Linked DNA regions of Homo sapiens: regions 1, 2, 3 and 4 are each linked to region 5. Evidence: promoter capture Hi-C in 16 types of primary human blood cells and fetal thymus (Javierre and others, 2016). All regions are on one chromosome and are shown on one strand. The core of a region is centred on a gene start or on the middle of the fragment in contact, and the rest is flanking DNA. Distances in the headings are between cores, read along the strand shown. Region 1 overlaps IPP (intracisternal A particle-promoted polypeptide). Region 2 overlaps MAST2 (microtubule associated serine/threonine kinase 2). Region 3 overlaps MAST2 (microtubule associated serine/threonine kinase 2). Region 4 overlaps MAST2 (microtubule associated serine/threonine kinase 2). Region 5 holds the start of LURAP1 (leucine rich adaptor protein 1).

Evidence for each region. The method cuts DNA at HindIII sites, captures the fragments that hold promoters and counts their contacts. A CHiCAGO score of 5 or more calls a contact.
Region 1: a contact is called between a fragment that was not itself captured here and the fragment with the promoter of LURAP1 in region 5, in 3 of 17 cell types (M1 macrophages, fetal thymus and M0 macrophages). The highest score is 7.3, in M1 macrophages.
Region 2: a contact is called between a fragment that was not itself captured here and the fragment with the promoter of LURAP1 in region 5, in 1 of 17 cell types (M0 macrophages). The highest score is 5.6, in M0 macrophages.
Region 3: a fragment that was not itself captured here is called in contact with the fragment with the promoter of LURAP1 in region 5 in 1 of 17 cell types (erythroblasts); the score reaches 5.1 in erythroblasts.
Region 4: a contact is called between a fragment that was not itself captured here and the fragment with the promoter of LURAP1 in region 5, in 3 of 17 cell types (M0 macrophages, endothelial precursors and erythroblasts). The highest score is 5.6, in M0 macrophages.

Annotation. Positions count from the first base shown.
Region 1 is chr1:45,697,044-45,701,452 of GRCh38, reverse strand. It overlaps IPP (intracisternal A particle-promoted polypeptide), which reads left to right. Exons shown (of 9, transcript NM_005897.3): 9 at 1,263-2,742. The coding sequence ends at 1,487. Among named protein-coding and RNA genes, the nearest start is that of TMEM69, 11 kb to the right of the region's middle. The HindIII fragment of the contact is 1,381 bases long and covers 596-1,976 here.
Region 2 is chr1:45,809,696-45,814,173 of GRCh38, reverse strand. The region is part of intron 1 of MAST2 (microtubule associated serine/threonine kinase 2); the gene reads right to left. Among named protein-coding and RNA genes, the nearest start is that of MAST2, 8.3 kb to the right of the region's middle. The HindIII fragment of the contact is 4,684 bases long and covers 1-4,363 here.
Region 3 is chr1:45,854,342-45,858,510 of GRCh38, reverse strand. The region is part of intron 3 of MAST2 (microtubule associated serine/threonine kinase 2); the gene reads right to left. Among named protein-coding and RNA genes, the nearest start is that of MAST2, 53 kb to the right of the region's middle. The HindIII fragment of the contact is 2,586 bases long and covers 1,366-3,951 here.
Region 4 is chr1:45,885,245-45,889,549 of GRCh38, reverse strand. All of the region lies in intron 4 of MAST2 (microtubule associated serine/threonine kinase 2), which reads right to left. The region is part of intron 2 of LOC105378694 (a long non-coding RNA gene); the gene reads left to right. Among named protein-coding and RNA genes, the nearest start is that of MAST2, 84 kb to the right of the region's middle. The HindIII fragment of the contact is 1,906 bases long and covers 417-2,322 here.
Region 5 is chr1:46,201,156-46,205,290 of GRCh38, reverse strand. It overlaps LURAP1 (leucine rich adaptor protein 1), which reads right to left and starts at 1,957. Exons shown (of 2, transcript NM_001013615.3): 1 at 1,667-1,957. The coding sequence starts at 1,864. It also overlaps a transcript of POMGNT1 not described here. RefSeq lists a silencer at 1,917-2,036. The HindIII fragment of the contact is 3,345 bases long and covers 1-2,481 here.

The DNA of each region.
Region 1 (4,409 bases), core at 37-2,536, 500 kb after region 5:
AGCCAGGCGTGGTGGCGGGTTCCTGTAATCCCAGCTACTCAGGAGGCTGAGGCAGGAGAATCGCTTGAACCTGGGAGACAGAGGTTGCAGTGAGCCAAGATCACACCATTGCACTCCAGCCTGGGCAACAAGAGCGAGACTCCGTCTCAAAAAAAAACAAAAAAAAAAGTAAGACACTACTAGTCATTTTGGCTATAGCAGCACATTGAAATTTCTTCAGGGAATGATGTATAACAGGAGTTAGCAAACTTTTTGTGTAAAAGCCCAGATAGTAAATATTTTTGGCCTGTGGGCCATACACAATATCCTTTTTTGATATATGCTTTGTCTTTTTTTAAAAAATACCTTTTAATATGGGAAAATCATTGTTTGTTCTCAGGCTATACCAAAGTAGACTATAGTTCCCAACCCCTGGTTAGCCCACCTTTTTGAAAATATGTTCTGCAGATTACTAACTCCACTGGATGCTCCTTGTAAAAAGGATTCCATGGTCAAATAAATTTGTCAGGTGTTCCATGCTGTGTCATTCTCTTGGACATTTTTAAGACTCATTAAAATACTAAAGGCTTTTAAAAAATCCTTTGGTTTATAAGCTTCTTTCTCCTTGGAGCTTTGTGGTTCTTTTGTTTTTATTTGCTTATTTTTGAGTGTATTACCTACTTGTATTCCATAGACTTTGTTTCTTAGAATGTTGTCCTGTGTATGAGTTCTAGGTCATTTCCTGATCATGTTTTATAATCAGACCTTTTAAAAAATTATATTCCTCTAAATTTACTTTGTTCATGCCCACTTCAAGTTTATTTTAAAATATTCTGGGCCGGGTGCTGTGGCTTACACCTGTAATCCTAGCACTGTGGGAGGCTGAGGTGGGACAATCACTTGAGTTTAGGAGTTTAAGACCATCCTGGACAACATGGTGAAATTCCATCTCTACAATAGAAAAATTAGCTAGGTGTGGTGGTGTACACCTGTAGTCCTACCTACTCAGGAGGCTGAGGCAAGAGGAGCTCTTGAGTCTGGGAGGTTGAGGCTGCGCTGAGCCGAGATCGTTGCTGTGCATTCCAGCCTGGGTGACAGAGCGAGACCCTGTCTCCAAGGAAAAAACAAAGCAAAAAAAAGAAAAAAAAATCTGTATGCTTACCTGACTAGATAGTTTTACATTTAAACATGTAAAAAGAACTGGGATATCGAATTTCTCAGTGGATTTCTTTACTATCATTTCATAACACTGCTAACATATTTTTTTTTTCTCTCTTAACCAGGAAAAGTGGGTTGAAGTTGCCTCAATGAAAGTGCCTAGAGCAGGCATGTGTGTTGTGGCAGTCAATGGTCTTCTGTATGTTTCTGGAGGTCGATCTTCCAGCCATGATTTTTTGGCTCCAGGTACCTTGGACTCAGTTGAAGTTTATAACCCTCATTCAGATACATGGACAGAAATTGGTAACATGATCACCAGTCGTTGTGAAGGGGGCGTTGCTGTGCTATGAAATATAAAGCATAACAGAGCACAAGGAACATTTTGAAAATGCAGGACCTGACCTTTTGCAAAGCAAACATAGATTTGGTGATAAGACCCTCTGATTCTGTGAGTTTTCCATGTATTTGGTAGATAAATGACTAACGAGGCTGGGCGCAGTGGCCTCATGCCTATAATCCCAGCACTTTGGAAGGCTGAGGCAGAAGGATCACTTGAGCCCAGGAATTTGAGGTTGTAGTAAGCTACGATCATGCCACTGCACTCCACTCTGGGCAACAGAATGAGATCCTGTCTCTTAAAGAAAAAAAATAAACTCAAGAATGATTTTTCTAAAAATATGAGTGAGAATGGATATGGAATATATCCCAATTAATAAAGAGCTCACACAGATTTGCCAGGTTTACTAATAATAGAAATGCCATTTATGCTGTAGAATTCTCCAGTTTAAGTGTAGACAACTCCTATTTTACAAATTTGTAGAAATTATTTACTAGAAGCTTCCTGGCAAATAGTCCCTTTAGCTACTTCTCCAGTGCAGTATAAATTGTAACATAAAACTTTATGTGATATAGGAATAGTGTCAATGACACAGTTTAAAGACCTCTATATTCACAATTATATCCAGAGCATAATTTTCCATGGCCATAGTTTGAGCCACAGAGAAAGCCAATGAAATAGATTCCTACTTTTATTTAATGCCAAGAGTTTTCACTAGCCCCAAACTTTTTATTGGCAGCAGATATCCTAGGAGGGGTGTTTGGGAAATATCTAGCTATTTTAATAGATAGATACCTTTTTGCTTGATGATAAGTTTTTGCTTGCTCATATTTTTTGTCTTGATCCTGAGAATGCAAGTAAGGAATTAATAGGAGGTTCTTAGTGACCAGATGTTGTAATGGGCTATACAGTCCAGCAGGCAGTATGCACCTAGAAATTTCTCCCTTTTTTAGGCTGGGCATGGTGGCTCACACCTGTAATCCCAGCACTTTGAGAGGCCGAGGTGAGACGGGAAGATGGCTTGAACTCAGGAGTTCGAGACTAGCCTGGGCAACGTGATGAGACTCCGTCTCTACCAAAAAATATATAAAAATTAGCCGGGCGTTGTGGCTTGTACCTGTGGTCCCATCTGCTTGGGAGGCTGAGGTTGCAGGATCACTTGAGCCCAGGAGGTCAAGGCTGCAGTGAGCCAAGATTGTGCCACTGCACACCGGCCTGGGTGACAGCATGAGAACCTGTCTCAAAAAAAAAAAAAAAAAAAGAAAAAAAAATTCTTCCTTTTTTGCTAGATTGTTGTCACCAAAATTATCTGTTTGGCTTTAGGAAGAGGGAATTTTATTAGATTATCAAGCTTTGTAAAATTTATTTGTACTTGGGCAAACCTAAGTAAGAGCATACTGCAAAGCTACTGCTTGGATGTAGAGGGCTAAATTGTAGGTACTTCTGAAACTTTTTATAGATACTGACTCATAAGTGTAATTTGAAAGTACCCCTTGACCCAAACAAAACTGCTTCTCAAAACTTCTCATTTTCTCCCTGAGAAGCATTCTAAAGAATTGTTCTCTGTTCATTTCTAAGAGAAAGATTTACTGGGTGTATGATGCGGTTACTTTTAAGTTATTTCTACTGGCCAGTTGGAGCAATATATATTAAAGGTCTTGCATACAGTAAAAAAAATTTTTTTTTGAGATGGAATTTTGCTCTTGTTGCCCAGGCTGGAGTGCAAAGGCGTGATCTCGGCTCACTGCAACCTCCGCCTCCCGGATTCAAGCGATTCTCCTGCCTCAGCCTCCCAAGTAGCTGGGATTACAGGCGCCCACCACCATGCCTAGCTAATTTTTCTGTATGGGGTTTCACCATGTTGGCCAGGCTGGTCTCGAACTCCTGACCTCAGGTGATCCACCTGCCTTGGCCTCCTGAAGTGCTGGGATTACAGGCATGGGCCAGCGTGCCCGGCTGCATACAGTAAAATTTAACTAGTTGACTTAAGGATTTGATTTCCCGTTTCTTTTTTTTTTTTTTAGATGGAGTCTTGCCCTGTCACTCAGGCTGGAGTGCAATGGTGTGATCTCAGCTCACTGCAACCTCTGCCTCCCTGGTTCAAACGATTCTCCCGCCTCAGCCTCCCGAGTAACTGGGATTACAGACGTGAGCCACCATGCCTGGCTAATTTTTTGTATCTTTAGTAGAGACGGAGTTTCACCATGTTGGCCAGGCTGGTGTTGAACTCCTGACCTTGTGATCTGCCCACCTTGGCCTCCCAAAGTGCTGGGACTATAGGTGTGAGCCACCGCACTCTGCCGATTTCCCATTTCTTTGCTAAGGTCCTTCAGTATATTACTATAAGCATCATCAACTTATTTAGATAGAAAACTTTTAATTGCATTAATGAATTAGGTAGCACTCATATCCAAATTATTTGGTTTAGGCCGGGCACCGTGGCTTATGCCTGTAATCCTAGCACTTTGGGAGACTGAGGTGGGCAGATCACTTGAGGTCAGGAGTTCAAGACCAGTCTTGCCAACATGGTGAAACCCCGTCTCTACTAAAAATACAAAAAATTGGCAGCAGGTGGTGGTACATGCCTGTAATCCCAGCTGCTGAGGAGGCTGAGGCAGGAGAATCACTTGAATCCAGGAGGTGGAGGTTGTAGTGAGCTGAGATCATACCACTGTGTTCTAGCCTGGGCCATAGAGCAAGACTTTGTCTCAAAAAAAAATAAAACAAAAAATATTTGGTTTAGTCTACAACTATACCTTCCTTATAACTTAACCATATGCATTTATTAGGAAAAGTTTATGTAATGCAGACAGGAAGCTCTATGTTCCCTTCTCTGGGGCATCCTGAACGTCTGAAGGGTCACAGATGTCTGTGTAGAGATCTGTAAGATGTCAAAGAATAAAGATAATTTATAGACTAAGCTATAACTCATGTG
Region 2 (4,478 bases), core at 772-3,271, 390 kb after region 5:
ATGGTAAATACATAAGCAAGTAACATAGTTGTATATTATCATCATTAGGTATTATGTGCTGTGCATGCACTAACTCTATGTGCTGTACCTTTATACCACAGCAGTGCAGTAGGTTTTACACAGGCATTACCATGAACATGTAATGTGTTGCACTACAATGTTGTAATAGCTAGATGTCACTAGGCAATAGAAATTTTTCAACTCTGTTATAATCTTATGGGAAGCCAGGCATAATAGTTCATGCTTATAATCCCAACATTTTGGAAGGCCAAGGCAGAAGGATTGCTTGAGGCCAAGAGCTCAAGACCAGCCTGGGCAACATAGCAAGACTTCATCTCTATTTAAAAAAAAATTTTAATAAAAAAATTATAATCTGGCCAGGCGCAGTGGTTCATGCCTATAATCCCAGTACTTTGGGAGGCCGAGGTGGGCGGCTCACCTGACGTCAGAAGTTCGAGACCAGCCTGGCCAACATGGTGAAACACTGTCTCTACTAAAAATATAAAAATTAGCCAGGTGTGGTGGCAGAAGCCTGTAATCCCAGCTACTCGGGAGGCTGAGGCAGAAGAATTGTTTGAATCCGGAAGGCAGAGGTTGCAGTGAGCCAAGATCGTGCCACTGCACTCCAGACTGGGGGACAAGAGCAAAACTTCGTCTCAAAAAAAAAAAAAAAAAAATTGGCCAGGCGTGGTGGCGGCTGCCTGTAATCCTAGTTACTTGGGAGGCTGAGGCAGGAGAATTGCTTGAACCCAGGAGGCAGAGGTTCCAGTGAGCTGAGATCGCACCACTGCACTCCAGCCTGAGCAACAGAGCAAGACTCGGTCTCAAAAAAAAAATGATAATAATAATAATAATCTTATGGGACCCCCATCTTGTATGTCATCCATCATTGACTAAAACATAATTATGCGGAACATGACTGTATGCAGAGAAAAAGAAAATGAATAGTTCCATCTATACTGAACATGTATAGATATTTTTTTCTTGTCACTATTCCCTAAGTAATAGAGTGTAACAGTTATTTACATAGCATTTACATTGTATTATATATTATAAATAATCTGGAGATGATTTAAAGTACATGGGAGGATATACATAGGTTACATGCAAATACTATGCCATTTTATAGATAGAACTTGAGCATACCAGAGTTTGGTATCTGCAGGGGGTCATGTACTCAATCCCCGAGAGATATTGAGGGACAACTGTAGCAGCAAACAGACCTGAGGGGCTGAATGTGGAATACAGGTAAGGTTAAGAAAAAAATCAAACACAACCTCCAGTTTTGTTCTGGTAAATGAGTAGTGCCATCTATTGACATGAGGCAGACTGGGGAAGAAGCAGACTAGAAAGTGAAAATCAAGACTTCATTTTTGGACATGTTAAGTTTGAGAGGTCTCTGAGCTATCCAAATGAAAATGTTACACGGACTATTAAAAATAGGAGTAGGGCCAGGCACAGTGGCCGATGCTTGTAATCCCAGCACTTTGGGAGGCCGAGGTGGACGGATCACCTGAGGTCGAGAGTTTGAGACAGCCTGACCAACATGGAGAAACCTAGTCTCTACTAAAAATACAAAATTACCCAGGCGTGGTGGCACATGCCTGTAATCCCAGCTACTGGGAGGCTGAGGCAGGAGAATCACTTGAACCTGGGAGGCGGAGGTTGCAGTGAGCCAAGATGGTACCACTGTACTCCAGCCCGGGCAACAGTGCGAGACTCCGTCTAAAAAAAAAAAAAAAAAAAAAGGCTTACAGATTGATCTTTAGGCCAAGAGACATCCAGAACAATGATGGGAAAACTCTGTAATCACATGTGTCCTACCCTCATCAGGGAACATTTGCCAACCTGCTTCAAGCCACCATAGACTCTCTGCTCCCAGTACTTTTGATGAAACTAAATATTTCAAAGTTAACACCTTTTTAGGAGCTAGCCCTTACCCATACCCTGGATAAGAGGGAAAGGAGGTCAAATAAACTTTTGCACTGAAAACTCGGAAGATTTCTCAAATGCTCATGTCTCAAACAGCATGTCCTGCATCCTATCCTCCACACAGTTGCCAGAGTAATCCAACTAAAACACAAATAAGAATATACTGCTCCTGTGCCGCGCGCGGTGGCTCACACCTGTAATTCCAGCATTTTGGGAGGCCAAGGCGGGCAGATCACCTGAGGTCAGGAGGTCCAGACCAGCCTGGCCAACATGGTGAAACCCCATCTTTACTAAAAATACAAAAATTAGGCCAGGCGCAGTGGCTCACGCCTGTAATCCTAGCACTTTGGGAGGCCGAGACAGGCGGATCACGAGGTCAGGAGATCAAGACCATCCTGGCTAACACAGTGAAACCCCGTCTCTACTAAAAATACAAAAAAATTAGCTGGGCGTGGTGGCGGGCGCCTGTAGTCCCAGCTATTCGGGAGGCTGAGGCAGGAGAACGGCGGGAACCCGGGAGGCAGAGCTTGCAGTGAGCCAAGATCAGGCCACTGCACTCCAGCCTGGGTGACAAAGTGAGACTCTGTGTCAAAAAAAAAAAAAAGCCGGGTGCGGTGGCTCACGCCTATAATCCCAGCACTTTGGGAGGCCAAGGAGGGCAGATCACGAGGTCAGGAGATCGAGACCATCCTGACTAACATAGTGAAACCCCGTCTCTACTAAAAATACAAAAAAATTAGCCGAGCGTGGTGGTGGGCGCCTGTAGTCCCAGCTACTCCAGAGGCTGAGGCAAGAGAATGGCGCGAACCCGGGAGGCGGAGCTTGCAGTGAGCCGAGATCGCGCCACTGCACTCGAGTCTGGGCGACAGAGCGTGACTCCGTCTCAAAAAAAAAAAAAAAAAATACAAAAATACAAAAATTAGCTGGGCGTGGTGGCATCCCAGGTACTCGAGAGGCTGAGGCAGGAGAATTGCTTGAACCCCACAGGGGGAGGCTGCAGTGAGCCGAGATCGTGCCATCGCACTCCAGCCTGGGAGACAAGAGCGAGACTTCGTCTCAAAAAAAAAAAAAAAAAGAAATATACTGCTCTCGGCTAGGCACGGTGGCCCACGCCTGTAATCCCAACACTTTGAGAGGCCGAGCCAGGTGGATCACTTGAGGTCGGGAGTTTGAGACCAGCCTGACCAACATGGAAAAACTCCGTCTCTACTAAAATACAAAATTAGCCAGGCATGGTGGCCAATGCCTGTAATCCCAGCTACTTGGGAGGCTGAGGCAGGAGAATAGCTTGAACCTGGGAGGTGGAAGTTGCGGTGAGCTGAGATCGTGCCACTGCACTCCAGCCTGGGCCACAGAGCAAGACTGCCTCAAAAAAAAAAAAAAAGAATATACTGCTCCCCTACTTATTATCCTTTTTTTTTTTTTTTTTTTGAGATGGAGTCTCGCTCTGTCGCCCAGGATGGAGTACCGTGGCGCGATCTTGGCTCACCGCAACCTCCACCTCCCGGGTTCAAGCAATTCTCCTGCCTCAGCCTCCCAAGTAGCTGGGATTACAGGCGCCCACCAAGACGCCTGGCTATTTTTGTATTTTTAGTAGAGATGGGGTTTCATCATGTTGGCCAGGCTGGTCTCAAACTCCTAACCTTAGGTGATCCACCCACCTTGGTCTCCCAAAGTGCTGGGATTACAGGCGTGAGCCACCACACCCAGCCAATTATCCTTTTATATCACACTAAAGACCCTCAACAATCAAGGCTTCTTTAATCTCTAACCTAGCATTTACACCTTCAACGTAAAGCTCTGGGTCTGGCAATAACAAACCGATTATAGTTCCCTATATATATTACGCAGCTTCCCTTCTGTGTGCTTTCTGCCCTATGCTTTTCCCAATGTACTAACCCTGTAATGCAGAGGAAAGAGGTTCTGATTTCCATTAAAATAATTTTTTAAAATTTCTGTCACACTGAGGGTATTTTAGGAACTAAAGTTGAACTCATCTTCTGCCATCCTCAAAAATATTCTATTTCCTTTGTCTACTCCTATCATATAACCATTATTACTCAAATTACCAAAATTCAAAATATTTGAATCATTCTCCATTCATTCATTCAATAAATAATGACTGAGCACCTATTGTGAGCAAAGCCTTTAGCTCTGCATTGTTAGACAAAATGATGACATAGTTCTTACCTTCAATAACATGCAACTTAAAAGCAAAAATGAAATACAAATGAACACAGAAAGTTGAAAGTGCTAAAACACTGATTCATCCTTTCATTCAGCAAATATTTATTCAGCATCTACTTTATATGACCAGGAATGGATCAAACAATATGTTACAGAAACAAAATGAGATAAGACTACTTATTAAGCACCTACTTATTATGTGCTTTCCAGTCATTTTTGCATTTGATCTCTTGGAACCTAAGCTTTCACTTTTAAACCACAGAATTTTGAGAACTGGAATTTCAGGACATTCACAGATTTCCTGAAGCCCAATTAAGGATCCTCCTAGGATCCCATGTGGAAAAACAACTTTGCAGAAG
Region 3 (4,169 bases), core at 1,409-3,908, 350 kb after region 5:
ATATCCAGAATCTACAAAGAACTCAAACAAATTTACAAGAAAAAAACAAACAACCCCATCACAAAGTGGGCAAAGGATATGAACAGACACTTCTCAAAAGAAGACATTTATGCAGCCAACAGACACATGAAAAAATGCTCATCATCACTGGCCATCAGAGAAATGCAAATCAAAACCACAATGAGATACCATCTCATTTCAGTTAGAATGGCAATCATTAAAAAGTCAGGAAACAACAGGTGCTGGAGAGGATATGGAGAAATAGGAACACTTTTACACTGTTGGTGGGACTGTAAACTAGTTCAACCATTGTGGAAGACAGTGTGGCAATTCCTCAAGGATGCAGAACTAGAAATACCATTTGACCCAGTAATCCCATTACTGGGTATATACCCAAAGGATTATAAATCATGCTGCTATAAAGACACATACACACGTATGTTTATTGCGGCACTATTCACAATAGCAAAGACTTGGAACCAACCCAAATGTCCATCAATGATAGACTGAATTAAGAAAACGTGGCACATATACACCATGGAATACTATGCAGCCATAAAAAAGGATATGTTCATGTCCTTTGTAGGGACATGGATGAAGCTGGAAACCATCATCCTTAGCAAACTATCGCAAGGACAAAAAAAAAAAAAAAAAAAAAAACACCGCATGTTCTCACTCATAGGTAGGAAATGAACAATGAGAACACTTGGACACAGGAAGGGGAACATCACACACTGGGGCCTGTCATGGAGTCGGGGGAGGGGAGAGGGATAGCATTAGGAGATATACCTAATGTAAATGACAAGTTAATGGGTGCAGCACACCAACATGGCACATGTATACATATGTAACAAACCTGCACATTGTGCACATGTACCCTAGAACTTAAAGTATAAAAATAAGAACTAACTTTAGTTACAAAATCCAAGTCCTGCAGCAGTCTCAGAGACTCATCAGGCCCATCACAGTGGTGCCCCATCCAGCACAAAGTACAGAACCTGGAAACTTTACAGTCTGTGGTAGCTTCTCAACAAAGGATTCTTTTTCATTTGTTGCTTAAACAGAGAGTCAATCAATCAAGTAAAATTCCTTCCAAATAGAAAGGCCTTTTTATAGAGGACAAATATGCTCCTCAGGGTAAAAGGACAATGACTTTCCTGCTATTCCATAGGGATAATATTTTATCATTTACATAGGCTTATGATTAAGATTCCTCATTCCAATATCCTAGAAATCACTCTTTTCAAAGTAGTCTTCCTTTCATTGATTTACAAATTAAGTATTCTCTATGTACCAGATGATATCATGGGCCTAGCTATACAACTGTTAATAGAAATAGATAAAAATCCCTGACCTCTTAAAGCTTACATTCAAGTGGATGTAGACAGGCATTAAACAAAAAATGAATACATAAAATATACAGTATGTTAGAAGATAATAAATGCAATGAAGAAAAATAAAACAGGGAAGGATTAGGGGTTTGGGAGAATATTTTCATGCAAATTTGACGTTTGAGATACTGAACATATTGATGAAAAAGCTATGCTAATATTAAGGCAATATGAACACTTAAACAAGTACTAATTCCCTTGCTAAAGTATTATTTAAAAATAACTAGCTTAAGTCTACTCCCTACATATGATGCACATCTCCTCCCCAGCTCAGCCCAGCCCACTACCCTCATGACATATACATTCAAGCATACTCACATAAAAAAAAAAAACAGATCTAAAGGATAACTTCTCCCCACGTATATACAAAACATGGTTCCATGATTCTTTTTTGTTTGTTTTGCTCTTCCTCGGTATAATTGCTCATTTATTTTACTGTGCCCTGTAATTTAGAATTCTCCTAACTTAAAACCAATTAGATAATGGTATCTTTTCAAAAGACAGAACGTTTTTTTAACATACAGAAGCAAGCCAAACCAAACGACATGTAACACTCAAAGAATAAAGTGTCTTGTTAGTAAAACATGAAACTTACAAGGCATGCAAGTAAACAAAAATAAACAAAAATGTTTGATGTCAAAATCACATGTGCAACTGCGTGTGTGACTGCAAATAGTCTCACATTTGTCATTTCAACCTGAGTTACACTATACCTTGTCTGAAAAGGTTTTCCCTAGACTTCTTATATGAGAAGAAGCCACATATTAGTTCCATTTATTCATTTAAATATTTGCTCAACAAACAATTGTAACTGTTATTATTTTTAGATACGGGATATTGCTAGGTTGCCCAGGCTGGTCTTGAACTCCTGGCCTCAAGCAATCCCCCCACCTCAGCCTCCCAAAGCATTGGATTACGGATGTGAGCCACCCATGCCTGACCTCAAACATTAATTACAAGTTTGCTGTGTACCAAGCCCTGTATCTTCAGAACTGTCTTCTTCAAGAAGCTCACACTCAAGGGAGGCAAATAAATAAAAATTATATTGCACTGTGTATACACTCAGGACAGAGCTTTTCCTGCCTTCAGCATATTCAAGATCAATATTCAAGATCAATCCAAGTTAAACTTCTGAAGCCCAAGAGAAGCCGAAGATCTGAAACTGTAATGATAAGGTGAGTAAAACTAGCATTTGCTAGTCCCAAATTAGGCTCCTGAAGTCAGCACTACCAGAATAAAAATTCAGTGTTTAATTAAATCCTAGCCAGAGCAATAAAGAAAGAAAATGATAGAAAAGGAATATATAGATTGGAAAAAATAAAACTGTCCTATTTGAAAATGACATGATTGCCTATGTAGAAATGCTCAATCTACAAGAAAAACTCCTAAATGAGTTCAGCAAACTCACCGGATACAAGATCGGCACACGAAAACCAACCATATTTCTATATACTAGTAGCAACAAACATGTAAAAACTAAAATTTAAAATACAACATCATTTAAAGTTGCAAAAAAAAAAGTTTCATCTCATTTCTTTTTTCTATCTGACCTCTTAAATTTCAACCCCACTTGAAATAAATTACCAGCGCTGAGGGACTGAGACTGTTCCTGGCAAGCAGCATGAAAATACAAAAAGATAAAATACTTAGAGACAGAAATGCAGCAAAACACATACAAGATATGTATGCTAAAAATTACAACATGCTGATGAAAAGAATTAAAAATCTACATAAATGCAGAGACACACTATTTTCATGGGTCAGAAGAATCAAATAGAAAAAAAAAGCCATTTCTCCTCAAAACTTATTGTGATATCGTGATTTATAATAAAAATATATATTTTTTGGTCTTCATCCTAGTTCTTGACACAGAGCTCCCAATCCATTAGAATTTATTGGGTGATAGACATGCCTTCTGTTCTAACAAAGGGAATGTTAACTGGGCTCCTGTATGGAGGCTGTGCACCAGAAAGACCAAGCCATGATTAGAAAATTGGAACTTTCCACCTCACCCTCCAATCCTCTGGGAAGGGGATCATGCCTATGTGATAAAGCTGCCATGAAAATCAGTGAAGTACAGGGTTCAGAGAGCTTCCAGGATCCTGACCACATGCAGGTACCTGGAGGATAGTGAGCCCAGAGCGGGTGAAGCTCCACACTCCTTCCCACCTGCCTCATCCTATGTGCTTCTCCACCTGGTGGTTCATCTGTATCCAATTTATAGCTGGTCAGTCAAAAGAACAGGTAAAACCAGCTAGGACTGAAACTGGATCTAAAGTAGGGGCAATCTTATGGGACAGGGCCTTAGCCTATGGGATCTGATGCTTATTCCAGGCATGCAGTATAGGAGTTGAGTTAAATTATAAGGCACCCAGCTTCTGTCTGCTGTTTGGTGTACAGGGAAAAAAAACCCATAAATGTGGTGTCAGAAGGGTCCTGTGTTGTGGTGAGTTTGAGAGTAGGTAAAAGTTTAGTTTTTCCTTTATCTCATATTTCTTTATAGGTTTAATGTAATTCCTATCAAAATCCCAGCAAGACTTTTTGTAGATATAAAAAAGCTTATTCTAAAATTTATGTAGAAAGAAAAAAAATCACTAAAACCATTTTGAAATAGAACAGTAAGTGTAAGGAATCACTCTACCCAATGTTAAGACTTACTATATAGCAGCAGTAATCAAAACATTGTGGTAATGGCAGAAGGAGAGTCCCATAAGTGAACTGAACAGAAAAGAGAACCCAGAAATAAACCACACAAATATGTCCAATTTTTTTTTTTTT
Region 4 (4,305 bases), core at 120-2,619, 320 kb after region 5:
TATAGCAACCACACTGTATAGATAGTCAGGTGTGATCCTAAGAGTAAGAAAAAATTCACCAAAGGCCAGGTGCAGAGGCTCACACCTGTAATCTCAGCACCTCGGAAGGCCGAGGAAGGCAGGTAGTTTTAGCCCAGGAGTTTGAGACCAGCCAGGGCAACATGGCAAAACCCCACCTCTACAAGAAGTACAAAAATTAGCTGGGTGTGGCGGCGTGCACCTGTGGTCCCAGCTACTTGGGAGACTGAGGTGCGAGTACCACCTGAGCCCAGGAAGGCTGGGGCTGCACTGAGCCGTGATCGCACCACTGTACTCCAACCTGGGTGACAAAGTGAGATTCTGTTTCAAAAAAAAAAAAATTTCACCAAAAAAGTTTAAATTAATATCTAATAATGAAATCCGCATTTTAAAAAGCTTTTCCTGGCTATTGTATGATAGTTAGGTAGACTGAGGGTGAGCAATGCCAGATAAAGAAAGGCCAGTTAGGAGGTTATGGCAGTAGCAGAGGCAAGAGATTACAATGGCTGTGACTATCTGGACAAACCAGTGGTAGTATAAAGAAAGAGAGAACACCAGCCGGGCACAGTGGCTCAGGCCTGTAATCCCAGCACTTGGGAGGCCGAGGCGGATGGATGATGAGGTCAGATTGAGACCATCCTGGCTAACGTGGTGAAACCCCGTCTCTACTAAAAATACAAAAAATTAGCCAGGCGTGGTGCACACATCTGTAGTACCAGCTACTGGGGAGGCTGAGGCGGAAGAATCACTTGAACCTGGGAGGCGGAGGTTGCAGTGAGGCGAGATTGTGCCATTGCACTCCAGCCTGGGCGAGAGAGCAAGACTCCATCTCAAAAAAAAAAAAAAAAAAAAAAAAAAAAAAAAAAAAGAGGCCGCGCGCGGTGGCTCACGCCTGTAATCCCAGCACTTTGGGAGGCCGAGGTGGGTGGATCACAAGTTCAGCAGATCGAGACCATACTGGCTAACAGAGTGATACCCGGTCTCTACTAAAAACACAAAAAATTAGCCGGGCGTGGTGGTGGGGGCCTGTAGTCCCAGCTACTCAGGAGGCTGAGGTGGGAGAATGGTGTGAACCCGGGAGGCGGAGCTTGCAGTGAGCCCAGATGGCGCCACTGTACTCCAGCTTGGACCACAGAGCGAGACTCAGTCTCAAAAAAATAAAATAAAATAAAAATAAAGACAGAACACCAAGAGATATTTGAGAGGTATAACAGAAAAGACTTGTGAGTGTAAGGAAGAGCATGGCAACAAAAATAACTAAATTTTCTATCTTGAGGAAGCAGTACCATTTAATAAGCTAGAGTATAAGAGAGGACCTGATTTTTGAGAAAGACAATGACTCAGATTCATAAATGCTGCAGTTCAGATGTCTCTGAAATATTCAGTCACATTATGGTGAATGGACAGTTATGAGATCTAGCGATATAAATGTGGGGATAATGAGCATGACAACTATTCTCAACATACAGTAACAAAAACAGGTTCTCAAGGATTTTCAGATCCCACCTACACAGGTAAAGCTCGCCAACAACTACATCCATTTTTTAACAACAAACTGGTTCCCTGTAGGGATATGAGTGATGACTATGGCTACTTCCCTCCCAACCTCTGCTACGTCCTGCCTTCCCATTGGACACTTAGAGAATCTATATGAAATTACTTCCCACCAACTTTTAAAAGACAGGGTCTTAAATGTAACACAAAGCTATCACTCTGGGCTTTAGAGTCTTGAAAGATTGCAAAATTTCCTGATTTTCAAAGCCCCACAGAAAACCTAAAGCCCTATATCAGACGCCACTGATACCTCAACAAAGGGTTTATTATGTGTATGCAGCAGGTGGTATCTCTTTTTAGCACATTTTCCAGAAGCATTGATCCAGGCATCAAGTTGCATCAGAATGGGAAAGTACATGACACTGTCAGTTTCATAGGAACAAAGTTTGACACATCACATCCCTGGGGCCCAGGAACTCCTCCCTGCCCACTATGCAGTGCCTATCACTGCAGACACCAGACATTAACTTTCATCCAATATCTGGTATCTAAGTCCACTGCCCAAATGAATAAGCTGACAAAATAAAAGGTTAACTATCCCCAAGGGCTCTAAAGACTACAAGCCAGCAATGCCAATAATATCAACACACACATATACACATACCCCATGATGAATGCAACCAACAGCTACCTCTCCACTCCTACAGTCTGTTATCTCAATTGACTGCTCATAGCCTCTAAGAAATAAAGCAAGACATTTCATGAAATATGAGGAAAATTATCTTAAGCCTAATGGGTATTAGAAAAGCTTTACTTTCAGGGTAACTGGAGACATAAGCATTATTTACATTAAGCTCCCAAATGCAGGGTCTAGGTACTGGTGCTGAAATTCACAAACAAAATAAACAGTCGCCAGGCATTGTGGTTCATGCCTGTAATCTAAGCACTTTGGGAAGCCAAGGTAGGCAGATAGCTTGAGCTCAGGAGTTCCAGACCAGCCTGAGTAACATAGTGAAACCCCATCTCTACAAAAAATACAAAAATTAGCCAGATGTGGTGGCAGGTGCCTGTGGTGCCAGCTACTCAGGAGGCTGTGATGGGAAGATCTCCTGAGGCCAGGGAGGACCAGGCTGCAGTGAGCTGAGACTGCGCCACTGCACTCCAGCCTAGGCTAAAGAATGAGACCCTGTCACAAAAACAAACAAAATAACAACAACAGCAAAAGAAACAATCCTATTTGAAAGGAATCATCAAAAAGAGGCCCCCACTATAGCATTGGGCAAGAAAAGCCATTCAGAGCTGCTTCAATTATGAAAAAGTAAAATATAAAACCCTTCTAGCCTGGGTAAACAGATACAAGTAACTTTAGAACTTCAAAATCTTCTTTTCACAGATATTGTACTTTGAACAAAGTTATCAACTCCCTTAGGTCTGATATTCTAAACTACATTTTTAATGCATTAAAAAAATACCCAGATGGGTTTAAATATGAAATAGCTTTCTAAAAATGAAAATGATTTAGTTTCAGGAAGCTACATCTAAAATAAATGGTATGAGCCAGGCCAAAAGAACTTTCATAACCACCTTGCCCCAATAAAGCCCTTATCGTGGCAGGCATAGATGATGTTTGCATTTTGCGTATTAGAATGTAACAGCTCTCTTCCCTAATCTGACCAATGTCACTATAAATGTGTGTGTGTGTGTGTGTGTGTGTGTGTGTGTGTACTTATAGATACATATATAAATATGTATACAATATATAAATATATATGTATACTTATATAAGTATATAAATATATATAATATATACATATATATTTATCGATCTATCTCTATCTCAGTATCACTCATTCCAGACTCCTGTTCTCTGCTCAAATGTTGCCTTAATGAGAAAATTCCTGGACAATACAAAATTTTTTGATTTTTAAAATTTTTCTGTAGAGACAGGGTCTCACTATGTTGCCCAGGCTGTTCTCAAACTCCTGAACTCAAGCGATCCTCCTGCCTTAGTCTCTCAAAGTGCTCGGATTACAGGTGTGAACCACCACACCCAGCCTAGACAATTCAATTTAAAATTTAAAATTTAAACCCTCACCCCCACAGAAACACACATCCTCCTCTCTGATATCTGGCTTTATTTTTCTTCATAGCAGTAAGTACCATATGGCATATCATACATGTTTTTGTCTCTCTTAAGTAGAATGGAAACTCCATGAGCACAGGGACCTTGTCTGCTTTATTCACTACTGTATCTCCAGTATCTAGAATAGTGCCTACACCTAACTGGAACTAAAATAATATAGTATGATGGATGCATGGATGGAAAGATTTGAGCAAATGACAAAGTGAATGGAGGCAAAAAGACAAAAATATAGTAACTGATTTTACCAAAAAACATCTAGTAAGTAATAGTGCCGTGACTGAAACCCACATCTGCCTGACTTGCAAACCCAAGCTGTTAATTTTTATGCTATACTTCCACTTACCAATTTGGAGACTTTGGAGGAATTACTTGTTGAGTGGAAGAATGTGTATTTTGTATAATGCCAAGTTGTCACATAAGTCTAGAAACTCATATTTGAGTTCCTGTCCATTTTAATGCAACTAACATATTACGTGAAAAGCACAGCAATTGAAAGCCTCAAAAATTAATTAACAAAAACGCTCTCTCAAAGGACAAGAACACCAAACTAGAGGCAAATTCTAAATTTCTCTATGTCCATGAAGGATATATCAGAGGAAACGGGCCTTTATAACCTGGAATGAGCACACCATAGGATTCGCTCTTGGGAG
Region 5 (4,135 bases), core at 708-3,207:
CCTCCCCTTCTTCCCCTTCTTTTTTTGAGACAGGGTCTAGCTCTGAGCTCTGTCACCCAGGCTGGAGTGCAGTGGTGCGATTTCAGCTCACTGCAACCTCCTCTTCCTGGGCTCAAGTGATCCTCCTGCCTCTGCCTCCAGAGTAGCTAGGACTACAGGCACACACCACAACACCCATCTAATTTTTGTATTTTTTGTAGAGACAGGGTCTTGCTTTGTTGCCCAGGCTGGTCTCAAACTCCTGGGCTCAAGCGATCTGCCTGCCTCGGCCTCCCAAAGTGCTGGGATTACAGGCGTGAGCCACCATGCCCACCCTGTGCCTCAGTTTCTCCATCTATAAAATATCACTTAACAGGGTTACTGTGGAGATGAAGAGAGCATCATGTAAAGTGCTCAGCAAGCTGCCTGGCACATGCACTGGGTGAAAGTTTTCAAAGCAAGTAGACAGTCTAGATAGGCTCTTACTAGGCCTTGAGCTAAAGTTTGTACAGTGAGGCAAAGGCAAGCCCCCGCTTAGGTGGGTACAGTCACAGCCTTGCTCTGGAGAATTGGGCACTCACCTCCAACCTTCAAGGCCAAGTGCACACTTGGCATTCAAGTCCTTCTCCCAGGGGGCCTTTCCTGACTGCTCCACCCACCAGACTCTCTTCCCAGCCTCTCAGCTCAGGCGTCGGAGCCCTGGCTGGTCTCAGAGCCCCCATGATTTCCTTCCCCTTCTCCTTCACAGACCAGCTTGGCACAGGCTGGGCACACAGGAAGACTTTAGCTGACGTACTCACTGTGGGCTCCTGGTTGTGAGCCAGGAAGCCGATGGCAATTCCTCAGTTCCCCAGAACTGGCTGCAAAGTAGTGGCAGGTGTAAATCACCCACTTCACCGGAATCAGGGCCCTGGGGAACCTGCCAGGGCCTCGGCTGCCCTTTTGGCTCTGAATCTAGACCAGCAGCAATAGAGAAAGGGGAGGGTTGCTGTTTCCTCTTCTCCCCAAGAATGTACAGATGAGATCCAAATATCCAGTTTACCTGGAAGACTGGCTGGGAGGAGACTGAGTCTGAGGCGAGGGAATCAGCACCAGTGGTGCTGCTACTCTCTGTCCCTGCTATGGGTCTAGGAACTTTCCATTATTTTAAGTAGGGCTGGGGGATGTAGAGGAAACGGAGAAGGTTTTCAGTGCCCCTGGTCCAGGTAGTTTTCAGCAGATAGGCCCCTTTACCCACTTCTTTTCTGTGCGGAACACTGCGGCCTCACAGGAACTTAAACCCTTTCCCGGTTAGCAGAAGGAGAAAAAACCGGTTGCCTTACAACGGGGACTGGCGGGGAATAGGTGGCCCATACAGGCGGGGGGAATTTGTGCTGCGTTGGGTTCTCAGTACTTCCCAGTCCTCATCTCTCTCCTCCCAATTATTTGGCAGGAATAACTTCCAAAACCCACTGCTCCCAACCCAAGTCCTCAGGACCATCAACACCCCACTCACTCTTGGGGGACAAGTAATGGACGTCACTCCATCTCCACCCCAGCGTTTACGGATTGATCTGGGAGGGATTCTGAGCAGTTAGGTGGAGAGTTTTAACTACCTCCTCTCCAGCTTAACTCTGGGAGCATGAGTTCGTCCCTCCCGGCCCTACACTAGGGACTCGTCCCCTTGGCCCATGGATTCAGCACTCACCAGCTCCATCTTCAGCGCCATGATCTTGTCCCCCAAGTCGTGGCCGGTGCTAGACGCCCCTGGGAGCAGCAGGGCGCCAGAGGTTCCCAGCTCACACTCGCCTCGCAGCCCGCGGAGCAGCCCTTCAGGGGTCTTCCTGCCCACCTTACCCTCCACATCCCGCAGGTCAGGCGTCTGGGACTCCACGGTCCCCTCCATGCGGGCCCAAGCCTGAAAAGGGCTGGGCGACCGGACGCCGGGGACCGGCTCCCGGGGGTCCTCCCTTCGCCGCTGCTAAAGCGGAGCAAAACCGGTGGGTCCCCGCCCGCGCGGCGCGGGGGCGGGAGGAGGGCGCCGTAACACTCAGAAAAGCCGCGCAGCACCGTCTGTGGATGTATTCGAGTGCTGCGCACACAACCTCTGGCCCTGGATTGCGTGGGGCTGGGCGATTCTGGAGTTGGACCTGAAAGAGCACTCGGAGACCTCAGCGCCTTCGCCCCACCCTGGCACTGAATCCAGCCAGGCACACAGCAGGCGCCCAATACATGTTTGCAGAATGAAGTCTAAGCAGCTTCAGTCAGAGATGTGGGAGTTTAAGGAACAGCGGTAACAGAGAGCTGCAGAGGGCTTGGAAGTCTTCCTGGAGCAGAGGAATTGGGTATAAAACGATGACTGGATTTTAGCTAGACACACACACACACACACACACACACACACACACACACCACCCCCCCCCCCCAGGGGCTAGAATTCAGGCTAACGGAGTAGAAAAGGGCAACCAGTACTGAAGCTGAAGAGGTCCACGTTGGGCTTACAAGCAAGATGCTCCTTAAGCTTGACTGTGCGTATGAATTATCTGCGGATCTTGTTAAAATGTAGGTTCTGATTTTGTAAATCTGGGGTGGGGCTTGAGATCCTGCATTTTTTTTTTTTTTTTTTTTTTTTTTTTGAGACAGAGTCTCGCTCTGTCGCCCAGGATGTAGCGTGGTGGCGCGATCTTGGCTCACTACAAACCTCTGCCTCCCTGGGTTCAAGCAATTCTCCTGCCTCTGCCTCCTGAGTAGCTGGGATTACAGGCATGCGCCACCATGCCCAGCTAATATTTTTGTATTTTTAGTAGAGACAGGGTTTCACCATGTTGGCCAGGCTGGTCTTGAACTCCTGACTTCAAGTGATCCGCCTGCCTTGGCCTCCCAAAGTGCTGGGATTACAGGTGTGAGCCACTGCGCCCAGCCAAGATCCTGCATTTCTAATAAGCTCCCAGGTGATGGCCATGCTGCTGGTCCACACTTCAAGTAATAAGGGACCACACTTTGAGTAACAAGGTTACAGAAAATGGTTCTGAGATGTTTGGGTTTTATTTAACAGGTAATGAACAGCCATGAAAACTCTGGTTTGTTTAGGCTTTTAATTCAAGTAATTCCAGCCCATGGTTGCAGAAGGATTTACAATGAGAAGATAGTTACCCCTACCCTACCCTTTCACACCTCTAGGCCCACTCCCAATTGGCAAAAAATAACTTTTAGTTTTTTTTTTTCTTTTGGTGTTCATACCCATAACGTTATTGTTTAGAGTTAACTAAAAGTGGTTGCCAATTGGGAGTGGGCCTAGAGGTGTGAAAGGGTAGGGTAGGAGTAACTATCCTCTTATTGTAAATCCTACCACTATTTTTTCTTTTTTAGAGACAGGGTCTTCCTACATTGCCCAGGCTGGACTCAAACTCCTGGGCTCAAGCAATCCTCCTGCCTCCCAAGCAGCTGTGACTACAGGAGTATGCCACCATGCCCAGCCACACTACTTCTCAATTTTAAACATTCATCTGCTGTTTATTGTCCTATTCAGATAAATATGGATATATGGGTTTAACTCACACTCTGTAGTTCCTTTCCCCCATTGGCAATATATATTTCTTTTCTTTTCTTTCTTTTTTCTTTTTTTTTTTTTTTTTGAGATGGAGTCTCACTCTGTCGCCCAGGCTGGAGTGCAGTGGCACGATCTTGACTCACTGCAACCTGCCCTCCTGGGTTCAAGCGATTCTCCTGCCTCAGCCTCCTGAGTAGCTGGGATTACAGGCACGTGCCACCATGCCCGACTAATTTTTGTATTTTTAGTAGAGACGGGGGTTTCACCATGTTGGTCAGGCTGGTCTCGAACTCTTGACCTCGTGATCTGCCTGCCTCAGCCTCCCAAAGTGCTGGGATTACAGGTGTGAGCCACTGCGCCCGGCCTGGCACTACATATTTCTATCACTCTTTTTAGTTCATCTAAGGTTACCTTTGTAATTAACTTTTTTTAAAATTTAGATAGAGTCTCGCTATGTTGCCCAGGCTGGTCTCGAACTCCTGGCCTCAAGCAATCCTCCCACCTTAGCCTCCCAAAGTGCTGGGATTACAGGCATGAGCCACCATGCCTGGCCTACCTTTATAATTTTAAGTAACATCATTTTCCTTGGTACTTTTTGATCCATGGAAGGGTTTTAAGTTAGAGATA